Regions from separate parts of the Homo sapiens genome. Here region 2 is linked to region 1. The links are contacts of gene promoters, found by promoter capture Hi-C in human tissues and cell types (Jung and others, 2019). All regions are on one chromosome and are shown on one strand. The core of a region is centred on a gene start or on the middle of the fragment in contact, and the rest is flanking DNA. Distances in the headings are between cores, read along the strand shown.

Region 1 (7,516 bases), core at 5,017-7,516:
TGAGGCATGAGAATTTCCTGAACCTGGGAGGTGGAGGTTGCAGTGAGCCAAAATCACGCCACTGCAGTCCAGCCTGGGCGAAAAAGCAAGACTCAACCTAAAAATAAAAAATAAAAAAATCCACAAAATGACCCTTAACAGTGGAAGCTGAGCCTTGTTGGCAGGCAGGCTGGCATAGAAAGAGCCTCCCAGCCCTTAGAAGGTGAAGCTGGGCCCTCAGACATGTAGCCTCATGCCTGGCCCACAGCAGGCGCACAAATGTAAACAAACAGAATGAATACTTTCCAAAGGAACTACAAAACTCACTCAGAACAGTTTTTATTTATTCAGAAAGACATTTAAAAAACAAAACAAACTCTGTCAACCTACGTTCTTGACTTTCACAGAACATGCCTGAATCAGGGTTTCTTATTCTCACTGCTGGTGGCACTTGGGGCTGGATCATTCTTTTTTTTTTTTTTGAGACAGAGTCTCACTCTGTCACCCAGGCTGCAGTACAGTGGTGCAATCTCAGCTCACTGCAACCTCTGCCTCCCAGGTTCAAGCAATTCTCCCGCCTCAGCCTGAGTAGCTAGGATTACAGGCACCTGCCACCATGCCGGGATAATTTTTGTATTTTTAGTAGAGATGGGGTTTCACCATGTTGGCCAGGCAGGTCTCGAACTCCTGACCTCAACTGATCCACCTGCCTCGGCCTCCCAAAGTGCTGGGATTACAGGCGTGAACCACTGCACCCGGCCTGCATCATTCTTTGTTGCGGGGCTGCCTTGGGCACCACTGGCCTCTGCCCATCAGATGCCAATACCCCAGTCCCATAGCTGTGGCAACAGAAAGCATCTCCAGACATTGCCAGCCGTCCCCTGCAGGACACAACCATCCCTGGGGAAGAATCCGGAACCAGCTGAAGCAGAGAGAGTAATTTGGTCGTGAAGATTCTGAAGCCCAACTGCCAAGGTTTTCTGGGTCTCCCATTTGCCAGCCACTCTGCCCTTGAAGAAGTCATTTAATCCCATGCCTCAGTTTCCTCAACAGTTTAGATGGGGACAATAACAGCACTTACTTCTTGGGGTTATAGAGAACCGAGTGAGTTAACACGGGAAGAACTAAGAACTGTACCTTTCAATAGAAGACTTTTTTTTAATAAATATAAAAATTAATTAAAAGATGTTCTTTTTAATTATAACCTTAAATGACTTTTTAATGAAGAGAAAATTAGAACACATGTCCCCTAAGCATTCTCCTATTCTCCTTTAAATAGAAGCCGTCTTTGATTTTTTATTCTTTCAACGAGCTTGTCATTTAAAAAGATAATTAAGAGTAATCTAAACTTAAACCAAAGGATTCAAATTTAAGTGAACATCATATTATGTGAATACCACACTTCCACGTATGGGGTGTTTTCTGTTAATTTTTTTTTAGACAAGGTCTCATTCTGTGGCCCAGGCTAGAGTACAGTGATGCAATCATAGCCCACTGCAGCCTCGAGCTCCTGGGCTCAGGCGATCCTCCCACCTTGGCCTCCCACCATGGCCAGCCTATGGGTGTGTGTGTGTGTGTGTATGTGCGTGCATGCGTGCGTGCGTGCGTGTGTTTTTTGAGCACAGTGTAAGTTAGCAGGGAGATCTAGAGTTGACAGTGAGGACAGCCAGTGTGTGTGTGTGTGTGTGTGTGTGTGTGTGTGTGTGTGTTTTGAGCACAGTGTAAGTTAGCAGGGAGATCTAGACTTCACGGTGAGGACAGCCAGCCCTGTGGACACAGGCACCATTGAGGCCTCTGACTGCCAAAAGGCCTGAGCTTCATAAGAGGCACGGGGAAGGGCAAACAAGGACGGCTCTGACACTGAGACCTTGTCCCTCACTTCCCATCTCCCATGAAGGGGCTGCTCTGAGACTGTGAGGGGAGAGGGGTAGAAGAAAGGCCCACCAGCTCTCTTGGGTTCCCGGTCTACCTCGACCTCACCCCTGGGAGCCCACCCTGGTGGGCTTTGGAGTGCTAGGACATGTGTGCCTTTGAGGCACACAAGTGAACCGTGAGGCAGGTGGGAAAGCAGGAGAGGCCGACAGCACCCACACAAGACCGGGTTCCACCAGACCCCGAGGTCTCAGTGGGAGCTACAGCCTCTATCCCTGGCCATGGCCCTGCTACAGTAGGAGAAACAATATGGAAAAGAAATGACTCAAAGAGCAGCCTCCTAGAAAGAACAACCACAAAGTTTCCCAAACCCCAAGAGAAAAACAAGTGTCACTTCCAGAGTCAGGAATGAAAAGGGGTTGGAGCCAGCGCAAAAATTAAAACTGAAAAGAAAAGAAGGGCCAGGATGCTCACAGATCAGGAGAGATCAAGGGAATGTCGGGTTAGGATGGATCAGAGGCATCCTAAGCTAACACCCAAAGAATTTCAGCCTTTCAACCCTGATCCAGAGAACTGAGGGCCAGCAGGGACGGACACAAGGTCCAGAGAGTGAGCCCTCCAGCTGAGAGCCAGCCAAGCCCTGGCATCTCAGCTGGTGTATACAATAAATAGCTAATGCACGGGGGGCTGAACAACTAGGTGATGGGTTGACAAGTGCAGCAAGTCACCATGGCACAGGTTTACTTATGTAACAAACCTGCACATCCTGCACATGTATCCCGGAATTTAAAGTTAAATTAAATTAAAAAAAAAAAAAAAAAAAAAACAGCGGAGCCAGAGAGGCCAGCTTGAGATTTAAGACACTAGTCGGGAGGGCTGGAGGAAAGGCGTTTGGAAACCATGTATGCACCCGAGTCCCCTGGCCAGGGGCCACTCAGGAAGAAAGCAGATGGGAGAAAGGCCAGGCAGCAGGAAGGCAGGCGCAGGGGGCACGCAGGAGCAAGGGAGCCCCAGGGCCCTAGCGCCAGGCTCCAGGGCAAGCCTGCAGGGAAGCAGAAGCACCTCTGGGGCTGAGTGGCAAAGGAGGAGACGCCCCACAGAGCCAGAGGCAGAGGTGGGCTTAGGAAGCCGGAAGCGGGTCATGTGCATCTTTGTACTCTGGGGCCCAGTGCACCACCCACCCACCCACAGAAGCCTGCGGCTGACCCTCCCAAGGTGATTCATTTACTCATCCCACAGGGGCTCATCTTATGGCTTCTGGGTGCCAAGCACTGGGGACACTCAGATGAACAAGCTGCCCCATGACATCTGCAACCTGGGCAAGGGAGACAGGGCCAACAAGGAGGAGTACACAGCCAAGGCTAAGCACGAAGAAGCAGAGAAACAAGGTGACTAGTACAAGGTCGAGGGGACACCCACAGTTAAGAAGGTCTCTTGGGCAGTGACATGTAAGCTCAGCTCTGAAGGATGAGAAGGAGCCTTTCCCCAACAGATGTACAGGTGAGAGGAACAGCAAGTGCCCGCTCAGGAGCTTGCCTCCGTCCCTGCAAAGGCTACTGGAGCTCTGCTGCTGGAAATGTCCCTTTAATTCTCCAGAGCCAGAAATTCTTCCAGAATTCACAAGCTGAATGAATGCCACTCTCTGGCTCTGCCAACAGAGCCCAAGCTTCTCGGCAAGGCACAGAAATCCTTGAAATGGGTCCTCCCTTCCCTGCCTTAACCTTCACATTCCTGGACCCTCACAAAGATCACAGGCCCCTGGACAGGCCATGCAGGGGGTCTCTCCTCTCACTGTTCCCTCTACCTAGACTGCCCTCCTGCCCCACCCACCTCTACTTGAGCTCAAAACACCGCTCTGGGCTTGGCACAGTGCCTCAGGCCTGTGATTCCAGTGCTTCGGGAGGGAGGCTGGCTTGAGTTCAGGAGTTCAAACCAGCCTGGGCAACATGGTGAGACCCCATTTCTACAAAACATGTAATAATTAGCTGGGTGTGGAGGCACACACCTGTGGTCCCGGGTACTCAACAGGCTGATGCGGGAGGATCGCTTGAGCCCAGGAAGTGAAGGTTACTGTGAGGGTGCCACCATATTCCCTCACGACCCCCCCAACTACCTACACACACCTCATGCCAGACACACTACTTCCTGGTATACACACTGCGTGGGGACGCTCCTACACATGTCACTGTGCCCTAATAAGATTGGGTCCTAAGGATGACAACTGGCTCTTATTTGCCTCGGTATAACCAGTGCCAGCCAAAGGCCTGTCACATAATACCTGTGTGTGTCTTGAATGAACTCATCAGAACTTGGTTGTTTTTCCTCTACCTTGCCACCAAAGGCAGCAGTGGTTCACATCCTTGCATAGATTAGAATCACCTGGGAGGGAAGATTTTACAACCTACCAAGGGAGAGGGGAGGGGCCAAACCAATTAAATCAGAAATTCTGGGCTGACGCAGTGGCTCCTGTCTGTAATGCCAACACTTTGGGGGGCCGAGGTGGGCGGATCACTTGAGGCCAGGAGTTGGAGACCAGCCGGGCCAACAGCGCGAAATTAGCCAGGCCTGGTGGCGGGCGCCTGTAATCCCAGCTATTCGGGAGGCTGAGACACGAGAATCGCTTGAACTCGGCATGCAGAGGTTGCAGTGAACCGAGATCGCACCACGGCACTCCAGTTTGGGCGACGGAGCGAGACCCTGTCTTTAAAAAAAAAAAAAAAAAGGCCGGGAGCGGTAGCTCACGCCTGTAATCCCAGCACTTTGAGAGGCCGAGGCGGGAGGATCACGAGGTCAGGAGATCGAGACCATCCTGGCTAACACGGTGAAACCCCGTCTCTACTAAAAACACAAAAACTTAGCCGGGCGTGGTGGCGGGCGCCTGTAGTCCCAGCTACTCGGGAGGCTGAGGCAGGAGAATGGCGTGAACCCGGGAGGCGGAGGCTGCAGTGAGCCGAGATCGCGCCGCTGCACTCCAGCCTGGGCGACAGAGCAAGACTCCGTCTCAAAAGAAAAAAAAAAAAGAAAAACCCTCTGGAAGTGGGGCCCAGAAAAAGGCTCTTACAAAAAAAGTTTCCCAGATGCTGAAAATCAGATTTACATCCATGTTTCTCAAAACCAGGTGATATTCCACCTCACCTGGAAAGCTTAAAAAAAGAGACTCCCAAAGTTGAGAGTCGGCTACAGTAGGTTCTCTATGGAGACCCAAAACGTGTATTTAGGACATTTCCTAGGTGATTCTAAGGTGCCGATATAAGAGGCACTGTCGTATCTTAAGAGCAATCAAGGAACGACAGTTAAGGAACAGAGAGTACCTACTAGACACGGTGCTATGTGCTTTACGCACAGTGCCTGAACTGACCCTCGTATCAACCCATTTTACAGGTGAAAAAACCAAGATTAAACGTTATTTCAATGGCCCAAGGTCACACAGTTAAAGATGAAGGCTCTGCTGGGGTTTCCAAAACTTTCCCAGGAAATGATAGTGAAGCTATCTAGGACTGCTACTAAAAAATACTCCTGGCTAGGCGCAGTGGCTCACGCCTGTAATCTCAATTCTGGAGGCTGAGGCAGGTGGCCTGCTTGAGCCCAGTAGTTCGAGACCAGCCTGGGCAACATGGTGCGACCCTAGTCTCTACAAATACTTAAAAAATTAGTCGGGCATAGTAGTGCACGCTTGTAGTCCCAGCCACTCAAGAGGCTGAGATGAGAGGATTGTCTGAACCCAGTAGGTAGAGGCTACAGTGGGCTATGATGGCACCCCTGCACTCCAGCCTGGATGACTGAGCAATACCGGTCTGGACAAAACAAAACAAAACACAACAAAACTCCTATCCCTGCAACCCAGAGCCTGCAGGAGGGAGCTGAGCATGTGCGCTTTTTAAAACATCTTTATTTTTTGGCGGGGATGAGGCCGCTTTGCCCTCGCCGCGCCGCGCAGTGCTGCATCCTGAACAGCAGAGGGCGCGCCGGGAAGCCACCAGGTGACCCCCGCTGGACCCGAGGCCCACCAAGGGGGCCGGCCCCTACTGGGAACCCTGGACCCTTTTCCCTGAAGCTCCTTAACAGTTACTTTCACTTTGCACCGCACGCGCTGCGCTGGAGTGCGCGTCCTCCCCGCGCAGGTGGCGTCCGTGGGCTGTGCAGGGTCCCAGGTGCGTCCGCGGCCCCACTGCGGCCCCCTTACTTGGCGTAGTAAACCCAGCCGTCCTTGGTGGTTCTCTCCTCCCAGCCCGGAGGCAGCTCGTCCTCACTGTCCGTGTCGTCCAGCCCCGCGTAGCGCAGCGCTGCCATGGCTGACTGTGGAGGCACCTGGCCCCCCTATCGCCCGCTGCCGGGTCCACTCGCTCAGGAACTCACTCCCGCTCCAAACGAGACCCGCGCGCGTCGGGGCCCGACCGCTCACGCCTGCGCACTGCGCCCTCCAGGGGCCGCTCCGCCGACCACGAAGCTGAAATCCAGTCTCCGCAATATCGCGACGGCCGGCGTCAAAGGGGCAGGGCCTGGAGAGGAAGGCGGTGAAAGTGCCTAAGAGATCGCGCTGCCGCCGGGCTAGACAGCAAAGCCGGAGAGCGCTCCGAGGCGCTAGAGATAGAGCGGAGCCTTGTCAGCCTCCCCGCCGCAGGGAAGGGGCGTGCGCATCCAGTTTCGGGCCAGGACTCCGCCCGTTGCTGGGCGACCCGTAATCACTTCCGCGTTGTTCTGGCCAATCCTGCAGGAGCCCGGCAATTGGATATGGGAAATGTAGTCCAGGTGGCGCCTGACCAAAAAGCGGCGCCCGACTAAAAAGCGGCGCCCATGCTGTTGTCCTGGGCTTCTGTCTCTCCTTGCCTTGGGGTCTCGTGAAAGTCCGTGATCACAAACCTTCCAGGGCTTGCCAGCATTCGTGCTGATTCACAACCTTTGTTTTGCATATGAACACAATGTTAAAATATAACCTGGAGAACTTAAAACTGCTGATTCCTGATTTCCTGGTTTTAGAGAACTTTCTTTCAGCCAAAACACATAATAGAGACTGTGATAATAGAGACTGTTGTTTAATAGAGACTCATGATAATAGAGACTGATGATAATAGAGACTGATTGATAATAGAGACTGTTGATAATAGAGACTGATGTTTACGGAGCACTTAATGTGCGGTCCAGGCCAGAAATGCACAGACATCACATGTAGCTGACACCTTTGTGTAGTGGGCACAACTCAGACAGGGTAGCTAGGCCGGGCTCAGTGGCTCATGCCTGTAATCCAAACACATTAGGAGGCTGAGGCAGGAGGATCACTTGAGGCCAGGAGTTTGAGAACAGCCTGGGCAACATCGCAAGACCCCTGTCTTTACCAAAAATAATTATTTTTTTAGTTTGCCGGGCGTGGTAGTGCACATCGGTAGTCCCAGCTACTCATTGAGGCTGAAGGGGGAGGATCACTTGAGCCCAAGAAGTCGAGGCTGCAGTGAGCTATGATCGGGCCACTGCACTCCAGCATGGACGACAGAGAGAGCTGCTGTCTTTAAAAAACTGCCTCACCTTTAGAGAATTTCCTTTAGTAAGTCTGGAATAGGTCCAGAATCTGGAAAGAAAGGGAGGGAGGGAGGGAGGGAGGGAGGAAGGAAGGAAGGAAGGAAGGAAGGAAGGAAGGAAGGAAGGAAGGAAGGAAGGAAGGAAAATAAAA
Region 2 (7,516 bases), core at 2,317-4,816, 1.5 Mb before region 1:
GAAATGCAGATCACTGAGCTGCTCATGGAGGCGATGGTAGGCAGGGAGGAGATACCCAGCAAGGCCTTGTGCCAAGCCCAGTGGGGAGAGGCCATGCTTCACCTTCTGAAGCCCTCACTTTATTTAATTCTCATTAAATTTGACCCAGATCAGGACAGGAAAAATATACAAACAGACAAAACTAGTTTGCTAATATCATTGGTCATTTTTTTTACTTACTTTTTTTAAAAAAGAAAAAGCAAAAAGATAAAACAAAAAAATCCCTTGCCTTGTGGCTTCTATGGATCCGTTTCTCAGTTGATTTGACAGTATGTGGATGTATCTGTGTATGTGTATAATCAAACTAAGGTAGTAATCAAAACTCAGATTGAATGAGTGACCCCTCTAGCTAATATTTGCATTTTTTTTTTTCTGAGGTGGAGTCTTGCTCTTGTCACCCAGGCTACAGTGCAATGGCACGATCTTGGCTCACTGCAACCTCTGTCTCCTGGGTTCAAGCGATTCTCCTGCCTCAGCCTCCCAAGTAGCTGGGATTACAAGCTCCTGCCACAATGCCTGTCTAATTTTTGTATTTTTAGTAGAGACAGGGTTTCGCCATGTTGGCCAGGCTGGTCTCGAACTCCTGACCTTGTGATCTGCCTGCCTTAGCCTCCCAAAGTGCTGGCATTACAGGCGTGAGCCACCATGCCCCACCTAATGTTTGCATCTCAATTGTAGGTAGTCTTTCTTTATATGCATTTACTTCATCCCAGACAGCCAAAAGATTACCTTCCAGGACTCTATAAAATGCCCTAAGAGGTATTCAAGATTCTATCCAAGTCCATTTTTCTGGAAAGAGGGTCCCTACATCCATCAGAGCCTCAAAAGCTTCAGCAGCCAAAGAGGATTTGGAAATCAAACCACAGGGTTCCAAAGGCCTTTTCCCTCCGGGTGAGAGTCCCATTTCCATGAAGTGTGGAAGGAGTCGGGAACTGGAGGTTCCTTAGGGCCCTGCACATCTCACCAAGATGAAGGATTCAGGCCAAGTAGACTCCAGTTCAGGGTTCATCCACTAACTCAGGCTGGGGGATGGGGGACATTACACTTTGCTCTTGAACCTTGGCTTCTTCCCCCAAGATCCACACTTGTGGCGTGGTCAGGAGGGCCAAATGGCCACGAGGGTGCAGAGTGAAAGGAATGCATGTCCAGGATCAACCCTCCAGAGATGGTTGGTTTGGTTAGCACTGAAAGGTGGGCAAGATGCTCCCATGGGCCCTTCCTTCCCAGAAGCACCATCACTCCGTCAGCTCAGCACGGATCCACTGGGCCATCAACAGGGAGGACTGGGGGTCTTGCAGTACAGTCCCCACTCCCTGCTGTGAATCCCAGCCCAGGCCCCTCCGACCATTCCCTCAGCTCTTACAGCCTTTTGTAAGACCCTAAGATTAATCTGTCCCACATTGGTCTAAAAGTGCCACAAAGATGAAACTGTGTCCTATATTGATGCATGGGGATTGTCTTTGTATCTCTAATGGCAGAGTGTTGGCAATTAATTGGTCCTTACAGATATATGGATATGTACATTTCTTTAAAAAAAAGAAACTGATGATCTACAGAGATGTTGTTCTGGATGCAGATCAGAATTACCTGTGAGTTGGTTGGGTTTTGTTTGGTTGCGTTTGTTTGTTTTTAATACACAAACCTAGACCTAAGAGCCAGGAGGATCAGAGTGGCCCAGGGTCTATCAGTGCAGGGTGAATTGTGCATGGCCTAGAGTCTGCCAGACTTGATGTCCAATCCTTGTCCTGTCAGTTTCTAGCTGTGTGACTTGAAGCAAGAGACTGTCTCTTTCTGAACTTCAGTTTCCTCATCTATCAAGTGGGAGAAAATACTGCCTACCTCGGAATATTTCAGAATAGTGCTCTCAGTATAGGGTTTTCAACATCCCTGAGCCTGCTAAGTTTATCAGTCCATTCTTATACTAATAAACACATACCTGGGACTGGGTAATTTATAAAGGAAAGAAGTTTAGTTGACTCAGAGTTCAGCATGGCTGGAGAGGCGTCAGGAAACTTACAATTATGGCAGAAGGGGAAGCAACATGAAGGCGGGAAGGAGAAGTGCTGAGCGAAGGGAAAAGAGCCCCTTATAACAGCATCAGATCTCATGAGAACTCACTATCACAAGAACAGCATGGAGGTAACCACCCCCATGATTCAGTCACCTCCCAACTGGTCCCCCCCCCCACAACACGTGAAGATTGTGGGACCTACAGTTCAAGGTGAGATTTGGGTGGGGACACAGCGAAACCATATCACTGAGTGAAAGGGAGGTAAGGGAGAGTTGTGATATCATAGTCCCAGGTCAGCAGACCTTTTCTGTAAATGGCCAGGTAGTCAATCATTTAGGTTTCAAGGGCCACATGATCTCTGCTGCAGCTGCTCAACCCTGCCATCGACAATATGTAAATGAATGCCCCTGGTTGTGTTTCAATAAAGCTTCTTTTTTCCACAAAAACAGGTAATTGGGCCGGGTTCAACTCCCATAGACCCAGCTTGCAGAGGCAACGTAGAGGATTGTAACTGGGTATTTTGGGTCTTTGGTAGCAGAAAATTTGGCTCTGAATGGTGTGAACACCCTGGGACTAGTTATCTCCCGTAAGAAGTCCAAGGGTAGGTGCCCTTGCAAAGCTGTTTATTTCCACAGCTGAATGATGTCAGGGCCCGGACTCTTGCCCTCTCCCAGCTCCACCATTCTCAAGCTTCAGATGTAAGACATGTGTAAGGTTCGAGGTACCACATTTTTTACACCAGCCCACCCAAAACCAGAGGCAGAGAGTGTGCAGCCCTTTATTCCTTCGTAAGAGCAAGGAATGTTTTGCAGAAGTCGCTTCCCCACATAGTTAATAGGCTGCAATTGTCAGGCGTCCATCCCTCTGTCAATGGTTGGCCTTGGTTATGCAATTAACCATTACAGGTTTGGACTGGTCAAGGTTCACCCCACACATGCTCCACAGGGCTGGGGATCTGCCAGATTTCCCCACAGCCACACTGTCTGGGCAGACCTGAATAAAATCCTGACTTTCATTAACAAAGAAGATGGGTGGGTCGGACCACTGTGGGCTGCCACAGGGTGCTCCATGCCCCGAGAGTTGTCACATGGACAAAAGAAGGCGCTGTGGGTGACAGTACTTTGTAAACAGTGCGGCTTCTTCAGGATGTGCCCAGTGGAAGTCTTCTTCCATCAGGGAAGTTATCAGGCTCAAAGATGTATTATTTCTAAGTAAACCAGTGTGCCCAGTTCATAGCTACTTCCCCCTTGCCTATCTCTGGGTCCCCAGTTGACACTGTTGACCTTATTCGGCTATAAACTGATTCCTCACTTTTCTTCCCCATAATTCTTCTTTCCTTCTCCCCCGCAACTAGAAGAAAGAAACTTCTAGGTAACAAATGCAAAAAAGAAGTCTTCCAGCAAGGCAGGCACACTTCCTAGGACCAAGAAATACTCCTTCCGTCTTCTCCTGAAACAAAACAAAACAAAAAATTGCTAAGGTAAAGAGGAGGAACGCTGCCCTGCCAGGACTTTGCATTTAATTATGTAGTGAAAGCCACTTAGCAGAAATCCCAGGAGGCCTGAAGGGGCGGCAGTGGCCATGGGGGAGGGAATCTGTTGAAAGCAGGGTCTGCTCCACTTGAAATGCATCCCACCTGCCTGAAAGGTCTCTCTTTTTTCCTTTGAAATACGTGGAATTATGAACTAGATTAAGAATAAACTTCAAACCTAAGCTAATAGTTTGAGGCTGGCTTTCCCAACATCCAAAAATGATCACAGGTGATCCTGTCCTGAGGAGTTTGGATGATACTTTTTGGATGTGAAATTAAAAAGGAGTAGAAGGCTTTTTACTTCTCAACCAGAATTGCTAGGTGAGTGTAAGGAATCAGATATGAAAACTCCCTGAGAACATCTCAGTGGTCACACGTGTGTGTGTTTGTGTGTGTGTGTGTGTGTGTGTGTGTTTGCTAGCTAATTATTAAGACATCTATAGCTGTCCAATAAGAAATATAATGTAAGCCACATTTTAAATCTTAAATTTTGTAACAGCCTCATTTAAAAAAGTAAAGAGAAACAGCTAAAATGATTTTTAATATTATTTTAAATGCCATAAATCAAAAGTATTATGATATCAATGCATACTCATTATAAAAAATGTATTACTGAGATATTTCACAAATCTTTTTTTTTTTTTGGTGCCAAGTCTTTAAAATTTGATGTATATCTCAATTTGGATTCTAAATGTTCAATAAGGTTAAAGTGAAATGGAGTTTGACCACAACAATAAAGATGTACTTAACAGAAAGAAACAATATTTTCACTGCTTCAGTTTTTAAATTTAAACACAAAGTAGTTAGAGTCAAACAAAATTAATAATTTAGTTCTAGAGACACACTGGCCACATTGCCAGTGTTCTGTAACCACACATGGGCAGCGGCTGTCACATGAGACGATGCACTAAGCTCTAGAGTTTTCAGAGTTACTTGAGTTATCCAGTTGAAAACCTTTACCTGCCAGATTGAGGTTTAGCTTTGGTGTCTGGAAAGTCCAGTGCTTTATGGGTACAGCCTTCAGCCCGTACGATAAATCCTCCTGAGCGTAAGTTCTGCTGTCTGTTTCCATAGTATAACCACCTAGTGCAAGCCTAGATGTAACACTGACTTGATATTTGCTGAACGGATGAATGGACAGGAGGAGGCACAAATGAACCTGCTGACCAGTAGACACATTTGAATTTGAAATTGAGGCCTGAAGGATTTTTGCTTTTGTTTTGTTTGAATTTGATTTGGATCTGAAAAAGAAGGGAAAGATCTACTCTGTTTTCTGGACCTGGGGAGGGGCCTGAATCCAGGCAGGCAAGTATGACGGTCTCATAACCAGACCCACTTCCTGGGTGGGATGATGTCTCCTCTTCATCTTCCACTTGTTTTCCTAGGAGTGAGTACAATACTGAGTTGGAGCCCTGGACAACAGCTTTGTGGTGAGTGGGTGGCCTTCTCCAAAGCATGGGGGATTAAGAATGAGGATTAGAGAGATCTTGGCACTTCAGCCTGGAGTCCGAGGTCTACAGATGTTGAGAAATTTGTGTTCTTAGGTCTGTGTTCAGGGACAAGGCTGAAAGACCTTCTGTGGTGTTAGTTGGCAGCCAGGGTGTAGATGATGTAAAGAAATGTTTTGTGGTCTGGTTAGACAATGGGCCTTTAAGCCTACAAAATGTATTTTTCCCAAGGGTAATAACTATATCTCTGACTCCTATAGGTCCTGGAGCTGGTGAGGGAGTTCACTTGCCATTTCCTTATCCTTCCATCCATTTATTCATTCACGGGTCACATCATCTATGAAGAAACTATTGTTTAAGGCAGTGAGATGCTGGGACTATCAATGGGAACAAAACAAACCTTGTCCATGTCTTTGTACTGCTTCACAATTCGTTGGTGTAGATGAGCTTTACACAAGTAATTCATTACAATTATGCCAAGTACCGTAAAGACTGGGAACAGAATGGTGTGACTAGACGTGGTCTGAATATTACATGTTTTAAGTTGAATATTTAGGGATGAGCAGGATTATGTCTTGAGAAGTTAAGGGAATAGGGATGGAAAGGGGGAATGTTTTCCAAGTAGAGCAAGGAATGTGTTAGAACGCTGAAGACCAACAAGAGGTAATAGCTGCCCAGTGGTTTTGAGCTTGCAAACATAAGTGATTGTGAGCCTGGGGACAAACGGCTCATGTTGAACCAGAGATACTGTTGTGTCTACTCTTGGCTCGCTTGTACCCAGCTGAGTGCCCTGCAATACTTCAGGTGCTCAACAAATATTTTCTGTATAAATGAAGGCAAATAGTTACTCTTGGTTAATCCTAGCTTTGGAGGTCATTCCTGTCAAACATCCAAACACACCGTCTCCTCTCTTCTCAGTCCATTGAGTTTCATTCGGAAGTGTGTGGATAATTCTTCTAATTTTTATTTGGCTTTGAAGACCATTTTTTCTTCTTCTCCTCAAGACATTGTAGGGGCAGTGGAGATTCCTGCTCCCTTTCCTGAAGGTTCCAGTGTAAAATGTTTCCTTTGTAGGGACATGGATGAAGCTGGAAACCCTCATTCTCAGCAAACTATCGCAAGGACAAAAAACCAAACACTGCATGTTCTCACTCGTAGGTGGGAATTTAACAATGAGAACACGTGGGCACAGGAAGGGGAACATCACACACCGGGGACTGTTTTGGGGTGAGGGGAGGGGGGAGGGATAGCATTAGGAGATATACCTAATGGTAAATGACGAGTTAATGGGTGCAGCACACCAACATGGCACATGTATACATATGTAACTAACCTGCACGTTGTGCACATGTACCCTAAAACTTAAAGTATATATAAAAAAAAAAAAGAAAGAAAACTTCAAACTAGGAAGAGAGGGAAATTTTATCACTTAATAAAGGACATCTAGGAAAAAAAAATGTTTAAAATACACCAGCAATAGGCAGATGAACAAGAGAAAAGCATACAAATTCTGTTAATGTGTAAGGGGCATCATGTGGAAGAGAAATGTGTGCCCATGAGCCCAGTGTGACCCAGAAGATTTCATCACATGTGGAATTTGATATGTCAGAGAGCCAGTTAAAGATACAGGTCTTGGGATGAAAGCAAAGACTTAGACTAAAAATCTAAGTTTTGCAGCTGTAGACGGCAGGACAGCATTGAGGTAGCAGAGTGGATGAAATCCCCTAGGCAAGGATGGGTAGAGCAAACCTTGAATGCAGTTGAGAACCAAAAAGACCTACATGGCTGTTGAATTTCTCCAAAACAGTTAGGTAGTCCTGCTCTGTGTGTTCCCCCTATTTCCCGCCACACCTCGTCACTGAAGGGCGTCCTTCACAGGGGAGTTGGGAGGGTAGTGGAGGTGACCTAGGGATTATGAAAACGTGAATGGGCTTTCAGAAGAATAGGCAGTGGCCTCTCTGGATGAGTAGCCAATTTCCAGTGACTTCTAGGCTCATTCCTGTTGTGTGTTAATCTTCCCAGATAGATATAAAAATTCCTCAGGAGGATTTTCATGACAGTGAGTATCTTATGGAAAATGTGCATTTAGTTAGGTAAGGGAGATTCAGAAAGAAAAAAAAAAGACCTTCTGTGCATTTGCTATTTCTCAAATGCCTTTAGCTTGAAGTAGTCAGCAAACCATTGCATCATATTTTGGACTGATAGTTCCTGGGATCCTTCAACAGCTTCCACAATTGCATACAGTTGTAGAAAAACAAAATAGTTCAGGTTTTTTTTTTTTCAGCTTGCTTTTTGTTCGTTCGTATGTTTCCTTTTCAACATTGTATTTGTTCAACTTAATTTGAAATGTCCAGATGGAGGCTTACACAGGCTTCCTGTCTCTTCGCGTTCATCTCAAATCCTTTTCACTTCATGATTTAACCAATAATGTCTCCAAAGTAATATGTGACATGGAATTTCATTTAAGAATACTGTTGGTGGCCAGGT

Evidence for each region. Contacts are between HindIII fragments. The study calls those that stand out against the background at their distance.
Region 2: a contact is called between a fragment that was not itself captured here and the fragment with the promoter of WWOX in region 1, in 1 of the 25 tissues and cell types used here (dorsolateral prefrontal cortex).

What each region holds. Positions count from the first base shown.
Region 1 is chr16:78,098,404-78,105,919 of GRCh38, reverse strand. WWOX (WW domain containing oxidoreductase) reads right to left here and starts at 6,266. Exons shown (of 9, transcript NM_016373.4): 1 at 6,035-6,266. The coding sequence starts at 6,141. RefSeq lists an enhancer at 5,533-6,032. The HindIII fragment of the contact is 7,138 bases long and covers 4,257-7,516 here.
Region 2 is chr16:79,560,216-79,567,731 of GRCh38, reverse strand. It overlaps a transcript of MAF not described here. Among named protein-coding and RNA genes, the nearest start is that of MAF, 37 kb to the left of the region's middle. The HindIII fragment of the contact is 3,788 bases long and covers 1,673-5,460 here.